Linked DNA regions of Homo sapiens: region 2 is linked to region 1. The links are contacts of gene promoters, found by promoter capture Hi-C in blood cells and fetal thymus (Javierre and others, 2016). All regions are on one chromosome and are shown on one strand. Each heading gives the region's core, a stretch centred on a gene start or on the middle of the fragment in contact. The rest is flanking DNA. Distances are from core to core; before and after follow the strand shown. Region 1 holds the start of ACBD7 (acyl-CoA binding domain containing 7). Region 2 holds the start of LOC124902380 (a long non-coding RNA gene).

Region 1 (6,881 bases), core at 2,772-5,271:
TTAAGTGTTGGGGATAAAGTGGTGAGCCAGAGTTCTAAAGGAGGAGAAACGGTAAACAAAGTAAACGATTTAAGTTGTCAGATGATTCAAAGTGCTACAGAAAAAAAGCAGGGAAGGCCAGGCGCGGTGGCTCATGCCTGTAATCCCAGCACTTTGGGAGGCCAAGGTGGGCAGATCACTTGAGGTCAGGAGTTCAAGACCAGCCTCGCCAACATGGTGAAACCTCGTCTCTACTAAAAATACAAAAATTAGTTGGGCATGGTGGCGCACACCTGTAATTCCAGCTACTCGGGAGGCTGAGGTAGGAGAATCACTTGAACCTGGGAGGCAGAAGTTGCAGTGAGTCCAGATCATGCCACTGCACCCCAGCCTGGGTGATAGAGTGAGACTGTATCTCAGAAAAAAACAAAAGCAACACGAAAAAGCAGGTAAGAGTGGAAGGGGGTGCTAGGATGGGTGATAAAAGGCCTCCTGAGATGACAGATGAGCAAAGACCTAGAGGAGTGGAAGCACTGAGCCAGGCCGACCCTGGGAAGATAATTCTGAGGTAGAGACGGGAGAGCAGCAGTGCGACAGGCCTGTTAGAACAGCCGGGAGGCCAAGTGGAGCGGAAGCCCTTTGAAGGCAGGTAAGAATGAGAACAGAAGAAAGACGGAGAGAGATGGCCAGAGGCTCATAGACGAGAAGACCAGGCTAAAGCTATTTCTTGTCTCAAAGTCTTCCTGGAGGTGTTGCCATGTCGGCTAAGTCTTGAAGGAGGAGTTGGCTGTTAAGAAAGTGGGAAAAGGAGCCAGGTATGGTGGCTCGCGCCTGTAGTCCCAGCACTTTGGGAGGCCAAGGCGGGTGGATCACTTGAGGTCAGGAGTTTGAAACCAGCCTGGCCAACATGGCGAAACCCCATCTCTACTAAAAATACAAAAATTAGCTGGGCATGGTGGCATACGCCTGTAATCCCAGCTACTAGGGAGGCTGAGGCAGGAGAACCACTTGAATCCGGGAGGTGGAGGTTCCAGTGAGCTGAGATGTCACCACTGCACTCCAGCCTGGGTGATAGATTGAGACTCCGTCTCAAAAACAAGAAAGAGAGAGAGAAGAAAGAGAAAGAGAAAAGAAAAAATCAAAGAGAGAAAGAGAGAGGGAGGGAGGGAAAAGAAAAGGAAAAGAAAATAAAAAGAAAAGAAGGAAAAGGGTGTGCCAGACAGTGGAGTGGCAACTATCTACCAACGTGGAGAAAGGGAACTTGAAGTCCTTCAGTTACCTGGGGTAGAGCATCCATGCCTGTGGGAAATAGCGAGAGATGTGGTTGAAGAGGTCAGCAGGACCTGGTCCATCCCGGAGGACCACATGTACTGTTCAGCCAAGGAGAGCTAAATTGTCATTGCAGAGAAGAGAGCAAAACCATGGATGCACCATTCGTGAGGCTTGGGTCCAACCCTACAGCCATTACATCAAAATGGTGGTGGGAATTAGGGATCAGACTGGGGTTTGTATCTTTTTTTCCCCAGGTAATTGAATGCACTGCCAGGGTTAAGAAATGTTCATCGTGACAGTACTAAAGATTCAATGCAATCCCTATCAGAATCCCAAAGGATTTTTTTTATAGAAAAAGAAAAACCTATTCTGAAACTCATGCTATGGTTTTTATTTTATTTTATTTTATTTTATCTTATTTATTTTTGAGACAGAGTCTCACTCTGTTGCCCAGGCTGGAGTGCAGTGGCAAGATCTTGGCGCACTGCAGCCTCCGGCTCCCAGGTTCAAGCAATTCTCCTTGCCTCAGCCTCTCAAGTAGCTGGGATTACAGGTGCCCACCAGCATGCCTAGCTAATTTTTGTATTTTTAGAAGAAGGGTTTTTGCCATGTTGGCCAGGCTGGTCTTGAACTCCTGACCTCAAGTGATCTGCCCACCTCGGCCTCCCAAAGTGCTGGGATTACAGGCGTGAGCCACCGCGCCTGGCCCCTTCTTGCATCTCAAGACAAGACACACATGGCTAGGCAATGAGATGGGGAATGGCAACCCAGGAGAAGAAAATACTTTCAAAAGAGGTCTTAAAAGAACATTCTGGATTTAGAGAAAAAAGCAGAGAACAATGTAGCGTCCATCCCTCTCCTCTTCTGGATTCTTACAGTGACGATAATTCCAGAATGTCTCAGCTGAAGATATGGACTGATACCTGAACTCAGTGCAGTATTTCCTGCTGAAACACCACAGACCGGGTTCTGCCCGCAGCCAGGACTAGGCTAACAGAGAAAGGCCTGGCTGTGCTGAAGCTGCCATGAGCCTCAGTACCCCCACGGGACCTTTCCCATCATCTAGGACTTCAAACACAAACAACTGCCCAGTAGGTTTTTCTAACATTTTGCTTTTGGTCCTTCACTTGGAAATGCACTGATTTCACCAGGAAAATATTTGTGAGGAGAAAAAAAAAGATTTTCATGAAAACGCAAATATTTTAAAAATGTAGCTTTATGCAAAAGCAAGCTGAAAGGTTTCTTGTTGCATTGTTGTACGTTGAAGCTCAGTCACTTTGCTGACATTGAGTTTCTTTTTTCTCCCAGTCACCCTTCTCCACCAATGCTACTATTTATGCGAAGTGTCGGAAATTAGCTTCTCATGTGACCACCCAATTCGGTTCCAGTCCTTTGGAAATGTAATCCTATTCGGTGTGTCTGCAGACTTGGAGTGACATTGGGTTTGTTCCCCTAGAAAACTGAGTCAAATTGAATAGGCGTTTAGTCCTGTGCCTTTACCATAATTAAAAACAAGTTAAGCTGATTATAGCATGTGTCCAGAATTTAGGTGGTTTTGCTTTATAAAGAGAAGAGGTGCAAACCACAGGCCACTTTCTCTCATGATAAACAGCGCCTGGAGGCAGCGTGGAGGAGACACATCCATCATCCACGTTTCTAGGAATAATGGACATGAGAGAAGTATGTATAAAGAAGGAATCCTGTGCTTCGGGAAGCCGAGGTGGGAGGATCGCTTGAGGTCAGGAGTTCGAGACCAGCCTGGGCAACCTAGTGAGACGCCCCCCCCACCACCTCTCTTAAAAAAAAAAAAAACACATATATATATATTTTTTAATTTGCACTTTTAATTTATAAAATTTTTAATTTTTAACATTTTAAATATATATAAATTTATATATAATTTTTAGAGAAAAAATATATAATATATATATACCTAGGAAGACCCCAACCTCTGAAAAAAATTTATATATATAAATTTTTAATTTATAAAATTTTAAATACATATTTACTTATTCTTTTTTTTTTTTGAGACGGAGTTTCACACTTGTTGCCCAGGCTGGAGTGCAATGGTGCAATCTTGGCTCACCACAGCCTCCACCTCCCGGGTTCAAGCGATTCTCCTGCCTCAGCCTCCCGAGTAACTGGGATTACAGGTATGCGCCACCACACCCGGCTAATTTTGTATTTTTAGTAGAGACAGGGTTTCTCCATGTTGGTCAGGCTGGTCTCGAACTCCCGACCTCAGGTGATCTGCCGGCCTCAGCCTCCCAAAGTGTTGGGATTACAGGCGTGAGGCACCGCGCCCGGCCAATACATATTTACATGTATAAATTTTTTTAAATTGAAAAAATTACATATGTATTTTAAGAGAGTTGGGGCGGGTCTCTCTAGATAAATATATATCTCTCTCTCTATATATATATATATTTTTTCTCTCTCTCTCTCTCTCTCTGTCTCTCTCCTTCTTTCTTTCTTTCGAAGGCATTCCAGGGGAGGCCTGTGCCCTACGGAGACCTCTCTGGGTTTCCTGCAAAGAACCGCTTGAGAAAGAATAGAAGAGAGAGCCAAGAGCGGAGAGAAACTCATTTAAATTCTCCTGTCTTCGCCTTTCCATTTGCAGCCTGGGGAACCCGGCGTGCAGTACCGCTCACCGCCCAGCCTCGCCCCCGCGCCCGCGACCAATGGGAGGCGGCCGGGCCGGGAGCGCGGCCAATGGCAGCGGCCGGAGGAGACGCGGCCGTTTAAGAAGCGGTGGGTGCGAGAGGGGGCAGAGCACCGGACGACAACAGCAGCAGCAACAACGCGGCAGCCGCCACCATGGCCCTGCAGGTACCCGGGGCGCGGGGAGGCCACGCGGGAGGGGCGCTCCGCGAGGGGAGTGCTTAAGTGGGGCTCCGGGTGGGCTTGGCGCCCCTGGGAGCGGTCGGCGGTGACCCGGGGGACACGCCCACTCCTTCCCCAGCGCCCCAGATGGCAGTGTAGACCGCACCTGTGCCTGCTGACGGCGAGCCAGGGCTCCCAGGGCAACCCTTCCGGACCCCAGGGGCCGGGTGAGCGGAAAAGCAGGCAAGGCAGGAGCGCCGGGGAGCACGGAGCGGGCCTCCTCCTCTCCGTCTCCGAGAGGGAGTCGAGATCCCCCGCTCCCGCCCCTTCGCTCGTTGGGACCTCCAGGACCTCTCTTAGTGTCATACTGAGCAGAAGAGATCTGTGAGGCTCCAATTTAAAAATACTGTTTTATAGGTATGTGAAAAAAATTGTTAAGGGTGGAAAACTTTGGAAAAGACAACAAATATAAAGTAATAATTACTGATAATAATCCAATGATAATTCCTTCACCCAGGTGATAATCACTGCTACATGCTAGGGTAATTCCTAGTATGTCCTAGTATGTTATTTTCCATGTGTGTATGTGTGTGGCATATATCTACACACATACCTATGATGTTATTGTGTATATAGTTTTATTCCTACACGTAAAACAGTAATATGAGCATTTTCTCATTATTAAATATTCTAAAATGTAATTTTATTTTTCTTTTTTGAGACAGAGTCTCATTCTGTTGCCCAGGTTGAGGCGCAGTTGGTGCGATCTCTGCTCACTGCAACCTCTGCTCACTGCAACCTCCACCTCCCAGGTGTAAGCGATTCTCATGTCTCAGCCTCCGCAGTAGCTGGGGTTACAGGTGCACGCCACCACGCCCGGCTGATTTTTGTAATTTTTTTTTTTTTTTTTTAAGATGGAGTCTCATTCTGTCACCCAGGCTGTTTGAGATGGAGTCTCACTCTGTCACCCAGGCTGGAGTGCAGTGGTGCAATCTCAGCTCACCGCAACCTCCGCCTCCCAAGTTCAAGTGATTCTCCTATCTCAGCCTCCCAAATAGCTGGGATTATAGGCGTGCGCCGCCACTCCTGGCTATTTTTCTCTATTTTTAGTGGAGATGGGGTTTCGCTGTGTTGGCCAGACTGGTCTCCAACTCCTGACCTCAAGTGATCCACCCGCCTTGGACACCCAAAGTGCTGGGATTTCAGGCGTGAGCCACCACGCCCGGCCTCTAAAATGTAATCTTTTACATGCACAAAATTTCATAGAACGTGGCTCACTTCTTTAACCATTTCAGTCAGGCAAGACGTTATCCTGCGTAAAGTTGTAATACATACTTCAGGGCCATCTGGGTTCAAATGTGTGCCTCACTTCTACTTAGCCTGTGACATAGTTAACCTCTCCGTGCCTCAGTTTCTTTATCTAAAAATGCAGGAGAGATACATTAAATGAGTTATATGTATAAAGCATTTAAAACAATGTTTGGCATGTGGTAGAAGTCCAATAAGGATAAGCTTGTGGTGGAACATTTAGTTTGTTTGTTTTGAGACAGGGTCTCACTCTGTCACCCAGGCTGGAGTGCAATGGCATGATCTCAGCTCACTGCAGCCTTGACCTCCTGGGCTCAAGTGATCCTGCCACTTCAGCCTCCCAAGTAGCTTGGACCACAGGCACCTGCCACCACACCTGGCTATTTTTTTTTTTTTTTTTTGAGATGGAGTTTCACTCTTGTTGCCCAGGCTGGAGTGCAATGGCGCAATCTTGGCTCACCGCAACCTCCACCTTCTGGGTTCAACCGATTCTCCTGCCTCAGCCTCCTGAGTAGCTGGGATTACAGGCATGTGCCACCACACCCAATTAATTTTGTATTTTTAGTAGAGATGGAGTTTCTCCATGTTGGTCAGGGTGGTCTCAAACTCCTGACCTCAGGTGATCTGCCCGCCTCAGCCTCCCAAAGTGCTTGGATTACAGGTGTGAGCCACCATGCCAGGCTTTCCTTTTTTGTATCTTTTGTAGACATTTGGTTTTGCTGTGTTGCCCAGGCTGATCTCCAACTCCTGAGCTCAAGCGATCCACCCGCCTTGGCCTCCCAAAGTGCTGGGATTACAGGCATGAGCCACCTTGCCTGGCTCAAATATTCTTGTGCGTGACTTATGTGTTTATACTGAACTCTCTCCAAAATGATCAAAATGTTCTTTCTAAAATTTCCTGAAAGATCTGAAAGTTTCCTTTTTAGCTTAGTACTTTGGTTTTCTGTTGTTGTTTGCTTTTAAAATACTTGCAACGAGGAATTAAGAGTTGAGGAACATCACAGAAAAGCAGTATGCTAAGAAGTATTAACATCGACCCATGATATTATCTACTAATAATGCATTTGCGTGTCAACAATATTGGGGGAAGGTAACTTTTTTTTTTTTTGAGATGGTGTCTTGCTCTGTTGCCCAGGCTGGAGTGCAATGGCGTGATCTTGACTCACTGCAACCTCCACCTCCCAGATTCAAGCAATTCTCCTGCCTTAGCCTCCTAGTAGCTGGAATTACAGGTGCCTGCCACCACGGCCGGCTAATTTTTGTATTTTTAGTAGAGACAGGGTTTCACCATGTTGGCCAGGCTGGTCTTGAACTCCTGACCTCAAGTGATCTGCCTGCCTCAGCCTCCCAAAGTGCTGGGATTACAGATGTGAGCTACCACGCCCAGCTGAAAGTAACTTTTAAAAATGACAACTAATAACTGGCTGACATATTGAAATCTCTTCTGTCTTTATTACCTCACTGGCATGTGCGGGGATCATATTGGTACTAGTGTTCTG
Region 2 (7,611 bases), core at 4,663-7,162, 600 kb after region 1:
ATTTAGTTCCTTGTGGGTGTAGGACTGAGGTCTCTATTTCATTGATTTTCTGTCAGTTTCTATGTATGTTGCGTGCATGTGTGTGTGTGTGTGCGCGCATGCGTGTGTGTGTGTGTGTGTGTGTGTGTGTGTGTGGTCATTCCCTGATCCTAGAGGCCTCTCTTTGGCCAGCAACAGCACATTAATCCTTCTCATGCTTTGGATCTCTCTGACTTGTCATTCAGTGACTAGCAAACCCTATGATTCATGTTATAAGTAGGAAGTAAAAGGTTGGTCATCAAGGAAGTGGAGACTGAAACATCTGGAAAAGAGAAGGAAGCCAGGGACTAGTTCAAAGAATCGAACCAGGGGGTTTTCACAAGAGGATGGTTTTGAAAGAAAGGATCTCTACTTTCATCTCAGAGAGATGCCTTTCCCTCTACTCTATAATGGCATCCTGGTGATCAACTAGTGTTCCCCATGGGGTATAATGAATGCCAATACACAGTGAAGTAAATACAATTTTACTTTCCAAGAGACAAGGGTAAGACAACTAGGTGCATGAATATTGCAGCAAAAGGATTTAGATAAGATTTTCTTTACCTATGAGTTTTAAAAATCAATATCACTGGCAACAGTTGTGATAAATCTGTAGAAGATTTACTGGAGTTACCATGTTTGTCAATGTAAACCCAAGACACCCTCATCTTCATCTTCTTGTACCGGTCCCCTAGCATGAGGCTAAGAGATCACAAATATCTCCTTATAGGAAATTCCCATTTGGAATTCCCTTGAAAAACCCCATTCCCATAAAAGCTAAACAAATGGGGGTGAAGTGGAGGATAACCCACGCATATCAAATTACTTTTCACTTTCACTTTATCAGTGCTAATTTCTTTTGGCCCTAAGCTCACTTTTCACATCTGATTTAAATGTTTAAACTATGTTTCTGCTTTGGAGAGCTAGGAGACATTGGAGTGTGCCCACTGTAAGTTGGAATGTCCTTTGTTCTTGGAGACGGTACTTTAGGATGCTCCTGCCAGAAATTTGGAAGAAAGGCCTTTGGACCATTTGATGAGGTAGAATCTATGCAGCCATGTCCTAGTCCAATCAGCTTTCCCTGTAAAGGATTTTATTATTGTTTTAATAGGAAGAATGTGTTCTTTGAAAAGAGCATCACGTGAGGAAAATGATAAACATCGAGTAAGAAAAATTTAAATTCTTTCAAATCAAAGACTTTATCATTTAAGTCCCTCCTCCCTCCCAAGTCACTGGTCATGCCTCATGCATTTTGCAGCCCCAGTGCCTGGCATGGTGCTCAGCCATAGCCTCTAGCAGGGGCTCACTGAATCCTGTTGAATGAGACAAATGTGAGGGCAAGTGTCCAGGCTTTGATTATTGGTTTGCCCCAACCACACTTTCAGAATCCCTGAATGAAGAGACTTTTTCTTTAGCTTGCTAATTTGTGAATTTTGAGTGGAAAAAAGTAACAAAAGCACAAAGCAATAAAGTCATAAATAACCTTAGAATTGAGTTAGTTGAGATTAAGACCTTAAAGGCTCAAGGTTCTGTTGGCATTGAAATGAAAAGCTGTTGTGCTAATTAACGTGAAATAGCACATTATACATATCATTATTAAAGTGAAATGTGCATACTGTATAACAGGTGAGTTTGGACAGCTGTAAAGGTAATTAAAACAGATGTCCTGCATCATTAGGCTTCAAACACCTGCATTAGATCTGAAGGAGGTACTAGGAGCACCTCCCATGATGGCTGTAGAAACAAATTTTTGTGTCATGAGTATAGAAGAAAAACAGTATCTGTTCATGGAGGACACTCCTTGTGTTTTCCCAAACACAGATTTCCATAAAATATAAACCACAAGAACAAGGATTTAAAGCAATGTGCAGCCAGTGAGAAATATTTTTTCCCTTTTCCTTTTTGTTTAGCTGTTTATTAAATTGAATAATTCTGAAGCCCGTCTTCCCACACTCCAGGCATACCATTTGGGGACAGGCAGGCACAGATATATGCCTCGGAAGCCCAGGAGGTTGAGAGCCTGGATAATTTTTCCTGATGAGGGTTGCAGCTCTTCCTGGGTTGCTTGAGAACTTCCTTGGCTTCTGAAACATCCAAGTGCCCCGGGAATTAACATCTTTGCCTCCTCATGAACCCATCAAACCAAGATCCAATTGCATCAGCAAGTGTACTTCTTACTGTGTATAGGTAGTAACTCTTCTTTCCTTTCCTTTCTTTTCCTTTCTTTCCTTCCTTTCCTTCCCTCCCTCCTTCCCTTCCTCTTCCTTTCCTTTCCTTTTCCTTCCTTCCCTCCCTCCCTCCCTCCTTCCCTCCTTCCTTCCTTCCTTCCTTCCCTCCTTCTCTTTCCTTTTCCTTTGTCCTTTAATTCTTTCTTCTGCTCTTGTTTTGATTTATAAAGACAAGAGTGTTGTGGCTGAAGCTTCTGTGGCCTTCACACTTGATTCTACAAGAATTTGCTAAAAACCCCATAGCAGCCTAGAAAATCATCAATCATCTTTTGGATGACATGTGTCAGGCCACTGTTCCCTCTTTTACTGGAAAAGAGGCTTTCAGCCAGCCAAAGGGTCAGGGAGCAAAGCAGAGTGACTATGACATGCAATTGCCTTCCAATCTGGAAAGAAATGCCATGTGCCACAGAGGCAGTGGGAGATCCTGGCTTTCCAGCTATACAGGGCAGGTGTGAAATCCTGTCTCATCTGTGCATTCACTTAAAAAACAGTCGATTGCATACTGTCAACTTAAAAATCACCCAATCTATACATTTGGAAAGGAGATCTTATTTATTATAAAGGGTTATAGCCTGCAAGGTGGTCATCTTGACTGGCTGGGAAGCACAGCCTAATATGCTATTCAGTGGAAATAGCGTATAAGACTGAAAAATAATATTATCAACCCCAAGGCAAGCACTTGGAGGAAATGAAACAGGAATTTATGTTGAATGGGTTGGTCTACAGATTACAGGAAAAGCTAAGCATTATCACAAAGTGAGGGCACATGCATGATAAGCAAACATGCACGTTACATGTATTCCATGTTCACTTTGGGGCAGAGACTTAACATTTAAGTGTATTCAAGTTAGACCCTATACATCAAAAGGTGAAGCAGGGACACCAAGATCCAATTGCATCAGTGAGTGGACTTCTTACTGTGTATAGGTAGTAAACCTTTCCCTCCCTCCCTCCCTCCCTCCCTTCTTTCCTTCCTTCCTTCCCTCCTCCCTAGCTTCCCTCTGGCACTGAGTGCACAGCCTCTGTAAACTGGCCACAACCAGTCTACGGTCAGCAGCCTCTGATCAGGACAAAGTTACTGAAATCAGTCTCTTCTCCAATCAAAGCTGTAGTGATGGCTGGTGGGATGGGGGTCAGTTAATCAGCATCTGGAAGTACACGAGCTGCAAATTTTTTTTTTTTTAGATGGAGTCTCGCTCTTGTTGCCCAGGCAGGAGTGCAGTGGCGCGATCTTGGCTCACTGCAGCCTCTGCCTCCTGGGTTCCAGCGACTCTCCTGCCTCAGCCTCCTGGGTAGCTGGGATTACAGGTGCCCGCCACCACGCCTGGCTAATTTTTGTATTTTTAGTAGAGACGGGGTTTTGCCATGTTGACCAGGCTGGTCTCGAGCTCCTGACCTCAGGCGATCTGCCCGCCTCTGCCTCCCAAAGTGCTGGGATTACAGGTGTGAGCCACTGCACCTGGCTGCAATTGTTTTCATATTGCTTATGTCAAGGCCAGTGTTTGTTTAGCTGCTAGAGAAAAATGAAACCTTGTGGCCGTTAGAACATAGTTTATTCTTTTAAAGTGTAGGGTGTGTGGCTTAACCCTTGCCTGGCAAGGCTTTAGGTCCTGTTCATAATTTGGTATCTTATGGCCACAAAGCATCCGTATCCCATCAGTCTGATGATTTCTATTTTAACATGAATGCTGGTCAGTTGTTGTAGCTAAACCACAAAAGGGAAGGGGTATGACAAGATGTGTCTGACCTCCTCTTCCGTCATGGCCAGGAACTTCGTTTTTAAGCTTTTTCTGAGATTCCCTTAGCCAGAAGCGGGTCCATTCACTTGATTGGAGGTCTCTTGTTTTCTTACAGTGTCAAAACTTGACTAGTTGTTTATAAGAAAACATGGAACTGTGGTCATTCTCCAGTTCTCGGTACTATGGGCCAAGTCCTGTTATAGGCACTGGTGAGGTATCAGTAGATACACCAAGTTTACTGTCATCATCACAGAGCTTGCTAACTAGTAGAGGCAGCTAGATAATAGACAAAGTGAGTACATTACTATATTTTGTTGATTCTTAGAAGCATGATGTTTCACATTAGCAACTTTGAAACTGGGGTGCATTCTATAATCGCTGGCATCTTATCATTGCTGCTGGCCGGGCAGCTGCCTTTAAGGAATTGCCATTTCCCCCGAAGTTGCAAACCTGAGAAAAGCTGCTCATAGTGTTCCTGCTTCAGCTCAGCTGGGCTCTTTGCCAGTACTATGCGTAAAGGATTTATTTTGCCATTCAAATGTCTTCAAAAAGATTCCACGATGATCTGAAATTGAAACAAAAGGTTATTGTGTACATGGAGAGGCATGGAAACCCAAAAGCAAGTATTCATCTTTGGGAGAGTGACCACAATTCCGTGTTTCCTTATAAACAACCAGTCATGTTTTGACACTGTAAGAAAAGAAGATACCCGCAAGAGGGTGAAGCTTTGTCATGTCTTACTACTGAGCTATGTTTGCAAAAGGACTGCCTATCACATGCAAAGGTTTTCAAGGCATGAGAAGTCTCTTAAAATCTCCAAATTAGTAAAAAAAAAAAAAATTGGTGAGGTGTTGAGGTAAGAGGCAGGACTCACCTCCAGAGGTGGAGCTCGGACACCAGATCAGATTGAGGACTAGCTGAAACAGGGCCAGGATGAAAGCAGCATTCAATCAGACCCACCCACCAGTGTACCAGGTCAATTTACTGTTGCCATGGCAACACTCGGGAGGTACTGCCTCTTTCCACGGCACCCAACCATCCAAAAGTTACTACCCCTCCCGTGCATAAACCACTCCTTAATCTGCATGCAGCTAAACGTGTGTATAAATATGGCTGCAAAATTGCCCTGCCCTGAGCTGCTACTCTCTGCCTACTGGGTAGCCCTGCTCTGCGGGGGCAGTCACAGAGTTGTAACGCTAAGACTGTTTTCTTTTACTTTTGGCTTGCCCTTGAATTCTTTCCTGGGCAAAGCCAAGAAGCCTTGTGGGCTAAGCTCCATGATGGGGCTCAGCTGCCCCGCATCAGTGTGACCTAATGTCAAGGCCATGACTCAGTTAGCCGCCCTTCTCTTTTGTTGACATAAAACGTAATAGTGTGCGTCAACATTCATGTCTTACATGAAATATGATGTGTTGTGTGTTAGAAATATTATGGAGGAGGTGAAACGGGGAGCACTGTGGGGAGGAGGATGCAATTTTAAGTGATGTGGCCGTGGTAGTGCTCACTGAGAAGGTGATGTTTGAGCGAAGACCTAGAGGGGTCCAGGGAATGAGCTATGTTTCCTTCTAGAATAGAATATTTCGGGAAAAACAACAGCAACAACCAACCAAACAAAGAAATTCCACAAACAAATTATGTAAGGGTATACTTTAGCCAAATACAAAATAATTTAAAGCTTTTATGGGGAGGGAAGCTCCATGAAGACAGAGGTTTTGTCAGTTTGTAACTATAGATTTTCACGCAGGGCACGCACCAGGCACTCAGTCGATGTTTGTGGAATAAACGAATAAACTTTTAAAAGGGAAATAAATGCTACATTATATAGTGAGCAATAAAACCATTAACACATTTAAATGTAGTTGATAGTATAGTTTGTGAGGTTTAACACATTTTCAAAATATTTGAAAGAATAAGCAGTATATGTCATTAGGGAATTGTAAATTCAAAAAATGAAATACTATTACGCACCTATTGAAATGGTCAGAATCCAAAACACTAACACCAAATGCTGGCGAAGATTTGGAACAACAGCAATTCTCACTCATTCTGGAGGAATGCAAAAATGGCACAACCACTTAGGAAGACAGTTTGGCAGTTTCTTACAAAATGAAACATACTCTTACTATGTGATCCAGCGTTCACGCTCCTTGGTATTTACCCAAAGGAATTGAAAGCTTATGTCCACACAAAAACCAATGCACAGATGTTTCTGGCAACTTTCTTCATAATTGACAAAATTTGCAAGCAACCAGGATGTTCTTCCATAGATGAATGGATAAACCGTGGTATGTCCAGACGATGGGATATTATTCAGTGATGAAAAGAAAAGGTGCTATCAAGCCAACAAAGGCATGGTGGAACCTCAAATGTATATTACTAAGTGAAAAAGCCAATCTGAAAAGGCTACATACATACTGTGTGATTCCATCTATACGACATTCAGGAAAAGGCAAAACTATAGAAGATAGTAAATAGATCAGCGGTTGCCAGGGGTTGGGGAAAAAGAAGGATAAATAGGTGGAACATAGACGATTTGGGGGCAGCGAAACTGTTTTGTAAGATGCTATAAGGGTGGATACATGTCATGATATATTTGTCAAAAGTCATAGAATGTACAACATCAAGAGTGATCCCTAATGTAACCTATGGACTTTGGATGATAATGATGTATTAACGTAGGTTCATTGAGGATAACAAATGTACCATTTTGGTGCAGGATGTTGATGATGAAGAAAGCTGTGTATATGTGGGGATGGGGGGGTATATGGGAACTTTCTCTGCTTTCTGCTCAAGTTTACTGTGTTCCTAAAACTGCTAAAAAGCATAAAGTCTATTAGAAGATAAAAAGGGTATACGGTGCAAAATAAAAGAAGCCCTATAATAATAATTATAATCTTGGAACTAAATTCAAGGAGCCATCAAAAGGAGGGGGCTACAAAAGGTTGCAAACACCTCATCTTGTTAGACTTGTTGAAAGGGGGATTATACGTATTATTTAATTATTAATGATGCAAAAATATTTTGTTGAATTAAGTTAGCTAAAAATGTAGTAAAATTCTAGTAAAATAGAAATAGGATGTAGAACTTCAAAATGAATATGGAAAAGAACAATGAAAAATGTAATGAACCCCATATATGTTAGGAAAGGAAAAGAAAAACACGAAGAAAATACAAATAGAAAACATAAATGGAGTTGGCACCATTCAAGCTACCAGGACAAAGACAGATTCTCCTACTGAATGACAGGGCAGTTCTGGGTCTGCTGAGGGAGCAGGAGAAGGCTGCAGGTGGCTTCCCGTAGGACCGTGTGGCCTGGGGACAGACTGGTGGCTGGTGTTTGTGTGCCTAGGGTGCAGGCAGGGGTTCCTTTGGGGACAAACTCCCTTTTACCCAAGGCAGCTTGGAGGGCAGTCGGCTGCTTCCTGGATGGGGGTCTCAGGAAGGTCACAAAAGCTGGTTCATCCCCATCCCATCCATCTACTTGAGATCTTCTGGATGTGGTTAGGGGTAGGAAATAGGGAAGAAGTGGTCAAAGTCAAATAAAGTATAGAGATGAATCTCTACATTTAGGACATTTTATTGGGGAAGCAAAAATTGCAATTTGGGGCATACATGCATACCAGGTG

What was found. Contacts are between HindIII fragments. The CHiCAGO score rates a contact against its expected background, and 5 or more counts as called.
Region 2: a fragment that was not itself captured here is called in contact with the fragment with the promoter of ACBD7 in region 1 in 2 of 17 cell types (neutrophils and M0 macrophages); the score reaches 5.5 in neutrophils.

What each region holds. Positions count from the first base shown.
Region 1 is chr10:15,085,916-15,092,796 of GRCh38, reverse strand. ACBD7 (acyl-CoA binding domain containing 7) reads left to right here and starts at 4,021. Exons shown (of 4, transcript NM_001039844.3): 1 at 4,021-4,080. The coding sequence starts at 4,069. It overlaps ACBD7-DCLRE1CP1 (ACBD7-DCLRE1CP1 readthrough), which reads left to right and starts at 4,021. Exons shown (of 8, transcript NR_144471.1): 1 at 4,021-4,080. RefSeq lists a silencer at 3,847-4,236. The HindIII fragment of the contact is 6,812 bases long and covers 1-5,588 here.
Region 2 is chr10:14,484,645-14,492,255 of GRCh38, reverse strand. It overlaps LOC124902380 (a long non-coding RNA gene), which reads right to left and starts at 4,986. Exons shown (of 2, transcript XR_007062062.1): 1 at 4,860-4,986; 2 at 3,781-4,550. The HindIII fragment of the contact is 499 bases long and covers 5,663-6,161 here.